3 separate regions of the Homo sapiens genome follow, and all the other regions are linked to region 1. Evidence: promoter capture Hi-C in 16 types of primary human blood cells and fetal thymus (Javierre and others, 2016). All regions are on one chromosome and are shown on one strand. Each heading gives the region's core, a stretch centred on a gene start or on the middle of the fragment in contact. The rest is flanking DNA. Distances are from core to core; before and after follow the strand shown. Region 1 holds the start of TICRR (TOPBP1 interacting checkpoint and replication regulator). Region 2 overlaps FANCI (FA complementation group I). Region 3 overlaps FANCI (FA complementation group I).

Region 1 (2,691 bases), core at 101-2,600:
TTCTATCTATATATAACTTCTATCTATGATTATCTATCTATATATAATTCCTTTTTTTTTTGTTTTGTTTTTTTTTTTTTAGTAGAGACAGGGTTTCACTGTGTTAGCCAGGATGGTCTCGATCTCCTGACCTGGTGATTCGCCCGCCTCGGCCTCCCAAAGTGCTGGGATTACAGGCGTGAGCCACCGTGCCCGGCCTATCTATATATAATTCTATGTATTCTATCTATATAGCGATATATAATTTCTATCTGTAATGCAAATCTACATGTGATTTCTATCTATATATACATGTAGATAGAAAATTTAGGGAATTCACTGCAGGTGCTGCTTGCAGTCCACTTTTAAAACCTAACATTACATAATAAAACACTATTTTAAGAAGCTGCACTAGGCCGGGCTTGGTGGCTCACGCCTGTAATCCCAGCACTTTGGGAGGCCAAGTCGGGTGGATCACAAGGTCAGGAGTTTGAGACCAGCCTGGCCAACATGGTGAAACTCCGTCTTTACTAAAAATACAAAAATTAGTCTGGGGTGGTGGCGTGCGCCTGTAGTCCTATTCAGGAGGCTGAGGCAGGAGGATCGCTTGAACCCGGGAGGTGGAGGTTGCAGTGAGCCAAGATCGTGTCAATGCACTCCAGCCTAGGAGACAGAGCGAGACTCCGTTTCAAAAAAAAAAAAAAAAAAAAAAAAAAAAAAAAAGGAGCTGCACGATGCTCCCCTTGGGCGTGTACCATACCTTATTTAACCATTCCCAAACTGTTTCCATTTTTTCTGATGTTAAATAAACTCTAAGATGTACAGACGTCTTTTATCTGGCTCTCCGATTACCTTCTGCAGATAAACTCCTAGAAGTTACTGGGGCAAAGGGAGTGAACCTTTAATTTTTAATAAAATTTTTTAAATTACAGAAAAAGCCGTAGTCGTCAGATTCTACTTCCTAGGCGGTCCACAGGGATTTCAACAAGTTCGATTCAAACCATCCCAAATTCCCTCCCGGCACTAAGTTTTCCTCGGTCTTGGGAAACGTGGCCCCGCAGTCCGCACTCACGACTGCGCACAAACGCTGGCCTCTTTCCAATGGCGAAACTTCTCGACACGCCCCCGAGGCACCACCTCTTTAAAATTTAAAACGAAGGCCCAGGCCAATGAATGCTAAGCTTCTCTCGGACCACAGAGACCCGCCCACCGTCACTCCCTCCACCAATCAGACTGAAGTTTTCTCCACTGCCCCTCCAATCACCGCCAAAAATGGAAGTTGCTCTCGTAACTTACGTAAGGCAAGCAGCCAATAGGAGCAAACCTTGGAAACTAGCTCCCCCAATAGCAGCAGTTCCTGGAGAGCGCGGGAGCCTTTCGACCAGGGTCCCAAAGGAAAGCAGTGAGTGGTGCTGTTTCCCTGAAGGAAGGGACTAAGGGACGGTGGCGCGGGCCCGGACCGGGGCCCCGGGGCGGCGGCACGGCCGATATGGCATGCTGTCACAAAGTAATGCTGCTGCTGGACACCGCGGGCGGCGCCGCCCGCCACAGCCGGGTCCGGCGGGCCGCCCTGCGCCTCCTCACCTATCTGAGTTGCCGATTCGGCCTGGCCAGGGTCCACTGGGCCTTCAAGTTCTTTGACTCGCAGGGGGCGCGGAGCCGGCCGTCCCGCGTGTCTGACTTCCGCGAGCTGGGGTCCCGCTCGTGGGAGGACTTTGAGGAGGAGCTGGAGGCCAGGCTCGAGGATCGCGCCCACCTGCCCGGCCCGGCGCCCAGGGCCACCCACACGCACGGCGCCCTGATGGAGACGCTGCTAGACTACCAGTGGGACCGGCCCGAGATCACGTCGCCCACGAAGCCGATCCTGCGGAGCAGCGGGAGGAGACTGCTGGACGTGGAGAGCGAGGCCAAGGAGGCCGAGGCCGCGCTCGGGGGCTTGGTGAACGCCGTCTTCCTCCTGGCCCCCTGTCCGCACTCGCAGAGGGAGCTGCTGCAGTTCGTGTCTGGGTGCGAGGCCCAGGCCCAGCGCCTGCCGCCCACCCCTAAGCAGGTGATGGAGAAGTTGTTGCCCAAGAGAGTCCGGGAAGTCATGGTCGCCCGAAAAATCACCTTCTACTGGGTGGATACCACCGAATGGTCTAAGGTAAGGAAGGTTACTGTCGTCTCAGATGGCGTGCACGGTGCTTTCCTTGCTAACCAGAACTTGGCAGCGTCCTTAGAACAGCCACAGACCCCGAATGAGACTAATATGACTATGCGTCCCTTCGGAAGGAAACAAATAAATAGGAACAGTTTTCACAACAAAATGGGTAGTTCCTCACTACCTACTGTTTAAGACCCCTCACAATTTGGGCCCTACCTGCCTTCCCAGACTTGATTTTCCTACACACTACATCTACTCTAGCATATTGAAGTCCAGTCCAGAAAATCAACAGGTCTGGACTGCTTGTTTTGTGTTATGTGTGTTGTTCAATCTGCCTGGAATGCCAGTTCTCACTCTTCCAGGCCAGTCTTAACTTCACTTACCCTTTAAGGCTTCTTCTCCCAGTGACAACTGCTCAGTCCAGCGTCTGAATTGCCATACACATTTTGTGTGGCACTTAACCATTTCTCCATATGTTTTGATTATGCACATCTCTCACCCTCCATCTAGTCTAAAAATACCTCAGAGGCAAGCAGCAGGTTTTAACACAATACCCAGGGGTGTGTGTG
Region 2 (2,691 bases), core at 142-2,641, 290 kb before region 1:
CACCCAGGCTGGAGGGCAGTGGTGTGATCTCAGCTCACTGCAACCTCCGCCTCCCGGGTTCAAGCAATTCTCCTGCCTCAGCCTTGAGAGTAGCTGGGACTGCAGGCACGTGCCACCACACCCAGCTAATTTTTGTATTTTTAGTAGGGATGGTGTTTCACCATGTTGGCCAGGATGGTCTCAATCTCTTGACCTCGTGATCCACCTGCCTCAGGCTTCCAAAGTGCTGGGATTACAGGCGTGAGCCACCACACCTGGCCAAATTGTCAGCTCTTTATCCTGGCACTGAAGGTGCTTGACAAGTTGATCCCACCCTACCTTTCCATTGTTAAAGTCAGTTATTTACTTTCCTGGATTCTTCACCCCAGCATCATTGATTTCCCTACCATCTTCTGAATATGTCTTAAACTTACCTTTCTCATACCTTTACTCATACTTTTCCCTTTATATATGTAGGCCTTTCTGGTGCTTTGTGCATTTAAATGTTCCCCATCTTTTAGAACCTAGTTTAAGTTCCTTCTCCTCATTGCTTTCCTAATATATACCAACTCATAATGAGCTCTTCTTCCTTTGAACTCCTATTTAAACTCTCCCTTTACCATTTGGTAGGCAATAAACTATGTTTGGAATTAATAGATATTTGATATTGCTCTGTGATTTACCTCTTTAATTCTTTAAAAAAATTTTTTTACTTCCAACTAAATTATTAAAATTTTTGAAGAAAGACTATGTTTTATACTTTTATGTTCCTAATAGGACCATATTACGCTTGTGCATAGTAAAAATTCAGAAATATTTATTGATTTATTTTAGCTTAGAAGTAAGAAGATGTGTGCTACTACTTATGTCTAGGCAGTGTAATCGGTTTCTTCCTTTCTTTTAGGCAGTTTAATTTTTATAGAAATTGAAACTATCATAGAAAAAAGCTAAAATTATCCTGGTTACATTGGAGAAAAAGTATATATAGAATCAGTAGAAATTTGTATTGCAGTATACTTGACTTATTTGAGAAAGGAAACAAAAGACTTCACATTTCTTTCTCCGTATTTTTCTTTTATTTCAGTTATCTTTAGTTATTTGAGACAACTGATTATAGATTCTGTTTTTCAGACCTGCTTTCAAATATCGTCATGTATGCACCCTTAGTTCTTCAAAGTTGTTCTTCTAAAGTCACAGAAGCTTTTGACTATTTGTCCTTTCTGCCCCTTCAGACTGTACAAAGGCTGCTTAAGGCAGTGCAGGTAAGTCTTCAGATTCCCAAGTAACTTGCCAAAACTGAGGTTTAACTGTCTAGTGGAAGTCTGATGCATTTTTGTATAAATATATATGTCTAAGAAATTCTATTCCACTTTAGTCTGAAACATAAAATTTGCATTAAAAGGGCAAGAGCATTGAGCAAGACTGTTTTCCAGGTTTATTTCCTATCCATAACACTATTCTCTCAACTCATTTTCAAGTTAATGAAATAATTAAAACTCTCTTAGAACATTATTGACTACAATAGATTTACAGAGGCATTTGCAACCAGTTTCATTTTAGTGTTTCAGAGTATACTATTGTCCTTGTTAACTGTAATAAACATTAAAACGTATATAAAACAGAAGTAAGCTTCCTTATAGAAGCCATATGGTAACAGTATTGGGTAGAAATGACCTAAGGCTAATAAGCAAACTTGTTCTGTTTTTACCCACTGATTCTTTTTCAGCCCCTTCTCAAAGTCAGCATGTCAATGAGAGACTGCTTGATACTTGTCCTTCGGAAAGCTATGTTTGCCAAGTATGTAGCATCTTTTTCTATCATAGGAAGACGTTGTCTTCTAATGTTGGAGCTAAAGTTATCTCTGCCATCTCCTAGTACCACCTGTTCACAGTGATCATGAGAATTCCTAGCCCCGCAGAGCAATTTCATCAAATAAGGCATTTTGCTAAGTGCTTTATGTGCTTTTTTCATTTAGTCTTCAGAGCAACCCTATGAAGTAAGAATTATTGCAATTCCCATTTTACAGATAAGAAAAGTTAGGCTTAGAGAAGATGAGTGACTTTCCAAAAGTAAAACAGTAGTTGGTGGTGGAGCAAGGATTCAAAGTCAGGTCTAACATCAGAGCTTGTGATGTCAAGTACTTTGCTCTACTACATTAGAATAATCTTCAGGGTAATGTTCTAGTGTCAAATACTCTGAAACCTGAGCTGGCAGCAGTTCCAAAGGGGAAAGTACCTTAGTCAAGAAGATTATACTTAAGAATCTCATTTTAGTGAACATCTGAATTATGATCTAGAGGCTAGTAGATCAAATTAATTGTTGAGGGGAATGAGTTTTATTTGTAGCTTAGCCAGTCCCTCCTAACATCTCTTCCTTTATTTCTTAGTATATAAGCTAGAGATGATCTTGCCATCTCCTAAAAATATAAGACAGTAATATGTGAAAAGCATTTGGTACTTTGAGGATAAGATGCCCAATTAATATCACATTGGCCATATTATAATATATTCATGGGTGTCCAGAGGAACAACTAAGCCATATGCTATTATCTTTGTTCTAGAATTAAAAGTTTTTGTTACTCCTCACCCAAAGGCATAGCGAATAGACTGAGATATTACGTTGTAACATCTTTAACATGAATTAATCATTGCGCCTCAGTGAGAAGACAAGTGTGACATTTTCTGGATGGACAGTTTACATGGCATCAAATAT
Region 3 (2,691 bases), core at 125-2,624, 260 kb before region 1:
CAGAACTGTATACCTTTAAAAGATGCTTCTCAAGGGTCGGACATGGTGGCTCATGCCTGTAATCCCAGCACTTTGGGAGGCCGAGGTGGGAGAATCACAAGGTCTGGAGTTTGAGACCAGCCTGGCCAACATGGTGAAATCCCGTCTCAACTAAAGATACAAAAAATAGCAGGGCACGGTGGCTCACACCTGTAATCTCAGCATTTTGGGAGGCTGAGGCAGGCGGATCACAAGGTCAGGAGTTCGAAACTAGCCCGGCCAACATGGTGAAACCCCATTTCTACTAAAAAAAATACAAAAATTAGCTGGGCATGGTGGCAGGCGCCTGTAATCCCAGCTACTCGGGAGGCTGAGGCAGGAGAATTGCTTGAACCCGGGAGGTGGAGGTTGCAGTGAGATGAGATCACACCACTGCACTCCAGCCTGGGCAACAGAGCATGACTCTGTCTCAAAAAAAAAAATTAGCCGGGCATGGTAGTGCGTGCCTGTAATCCCAGCTACTCGGGAAGCTGAGGCAGGAGAATCGCTTGAACCTGGGAGGCAGAGGTTGCAGTGAGCTGAGATCGCACCATTGTACTCCAGCCTGGGCGACAGAGTGAAACTCCACCTCAAAAAAAGATGCTTCTCTTCTGGCTCTAATTTTAGTCCTGCCCGCCCGGATCAGTTGGAATGGGCAGGGAACAGGGTTGATCTAAGGAGTTCCAACAGGGCCCCATCTTGGACACAACCTCTGGGAAGATGGTTCACTTCCCACTTGGTCAGTGAGGTCGATCCGTGACTGCTTCCTTGCCCTCTTCTGCTGCCTTCACCCTCTTCCATGCTCTACCCTGCCTTCCAGGGCCAAAAACAGATTACTGCATACCAGCCCCTCTGGAATGTCTGCAGTTCCTTATTTTCCAGAACGTGGCATGTGGAACAAGTCTCCTGTTTCTCTCATGGCTCCAGTTGCAGAGCCTCTCTGTATTTTCAGGTCTGTTTCTTTATTCTGTTGCCCTCGTGGAGCATGGTATGTTCCCTTCCTAAGAAGGTTTAGAACTCCCCTTGAGGTAAAAAGCTGCCTACATTTCTGTACCGTACCTTACATTTGGGTGGTTTTTCTCCCCAGTCTCTCCTGACTCAAGTCTTGATTTTCTTTTGCTTTATCAGAATCTTACACTTTTTGGTTCCTTTTATTAGTTATTCATCCCTCTCCAGGAGCTCTTTATTACCCAATAATTTACAACACAGGGAAGTGTTCTGTGACCCTTTTAACCCTTCTTGAGCATGATAACCCATTGCACATAAAATATATCTGGTTTTGGCTTTGCTGAGTAACGAAAATAAAATATATCTGGTGATTGCCTGTAAGTGGGAAGACTGCAGGGCCCTGCAGCAGCCTCCTCAGCTTCCTCTCCTTTATGGGATCCTTCTAGCCCACTGGCTAAAATAGAAATAGAAATGAATATTCCTGCTACCACCTTGACAGTCCCCATTTTAACCATTCTTTAGTACCTCACCAGCCCCTTGGCTGACCCACTGCAGTAATAGTCCTGCCTTCAACTTCCATGTGCCAGCTCTAAGAACAACAGATTGTAAACCTCTCAACAACTAAAAAAGAAAAAATATCTGAGGATTACAAAGCATCCATTTTTTCCCTATCTTCTAACATCTGTTGCACAGATAGTCCTGTTTACTCCAGACTTGGTCCTCATACCCTGTGTAATTACCTTCTAAGAAAATTGCCACTAGTTGGTGGGCATGGTGGCTTAGGCCTGTAATCCCAGCACTTTGGGAGGCTGAGGCCGGCAGATCACCTGAGGCCAGGAGTTCGAGACCAGCCTGGCCAACATGGCAAAACACCGTCTCTACTAAAAATACAAAAATTAGCTGAGTGTGGTGGCACGTGCCTGTAGTCCCAGCTACTCGGGAGGCTGAGGCACAAGAATCACTTAACTCGGGGCGCAGAGGTTACAGTGGGTCGACATCACGCCACTGCACACCAGCCTGGGTGACAGCAAAGCTCTGTCTTAAAAAAAAAAAAAAAAAAATTAGCACTAGCATGCTAGCTCCACAGAAAAATCATCAGGAATAAGAGAATGTGTTTCTATTTCTTTAGAATAAGAGTAAGAGCCTGAACTATACGGGAGAGAAAAAGGAGAAACCTGCTGCCGTTGCCACAGCCATGGTAAGCTGCTGACACTGACCGTTAAAATATGCTTGTTGGTGAACCCGAAAACATGAAGCGGAAGAAGCCAGTGACAAAAAGACCACGTGTTGTATGATTCCATTTTCATGAAGTGCCCAGAATAAATCATCTAAAAAGGCAAACTAGATTAGTGGTAGCGTAGAGCTAGGTGGGTTGGAAGATGGGGAGACTGGGGTGACAGCTAAAAACGGTATGGAATTTCTTTTGGGGGTGATGAAAATGTTTTAGAATTGACTGTGATGATGGTTGCACAACTCTGCAAATACTGAAAAAAAAGTACATTGTGAGTGAATTGTATGGTATATGAATTACAGCTCTATCAAGCTGTTAGAAAAAATTGTGTGTATTATATACATGGCTGCTTCTCAACTCAGGGATTTTATGATCAGATGGAGCATCTTATTTTTCCTCTGAACCAAAAACATGTTTTATTCACGAAGCACCAGAAAATCTTGAGTTGAAATGGAAATAGTAAAATAACTTACGATACTCAATTGGGAGAAATT

The links. The method cuts DNA at HindIII sites, captures the fragments that hold promoters and counts their contacts. A CHiCAGO score of 5 or more calls a contact.
Region 2: a contact is called between a fragment that was not itself captured here and the fragment with the promoter of TICRR in region 1, in 1 of 17 cell types (erythroblasts). The highest score is 5.2, in erythroblasts.
Region 3: a fragment that was not itself captured here is called in contact with the fragment with the promoter of TICRR in region 1 in 1 of 17 cell types (erythroblasts); the score reaches 5.6 in erythroblasts.

Annotation. Positions count from the first base shown.
Region 1 is chr15:89,574,119-89,576,809 of GRCh38, forward strand. It overlaps TICRR (TOPBP1 interacting checkpoint and replication regulator), which reads left to right and starts at 1,351. Exons shown (of 22, transcript NM_152259.4): 1 at 1,351-2,122. The coding sequence starts at 1,469. RefSeq lists a silencer at 1,339-1,628 and an enhancer at 1,750-2,278. The HindIII fragment of the contact is 7,754 bases long and covers 1,159-2,691 here.
Region 2 is chr15:89,280,060-89,282,750 of GRCh38, forward strand. It overlaps FANCI (FA complementation group I), which reads left to right. Exons shown (of 38, transcript NM_001113378.2): 15 at 1,111-1,241; 16 at 1,706-1,776. Among named protein-coding and RNA genes, the nearest start is that of FANCI, 37 kb to the left of the region's middle. The HindIII fragment of the contact is 429 bases long and covers 1,178-1,606 here.
Region 3 is chr15:89,310,809-89,313,499 of GRCh38, forward strand. FANCI (FA complementation group I) reads left to right here. Exons shown (of 38, transcript NM_001113378.2): 35 at 2,096-2,164. Among named protein-coding and RNA genes, the nearest start is that of MIR6766, 15 kb to the right of the region's middle. The HindIII fragment of the contact is 9,693 bases long and covers 1-2,691 here.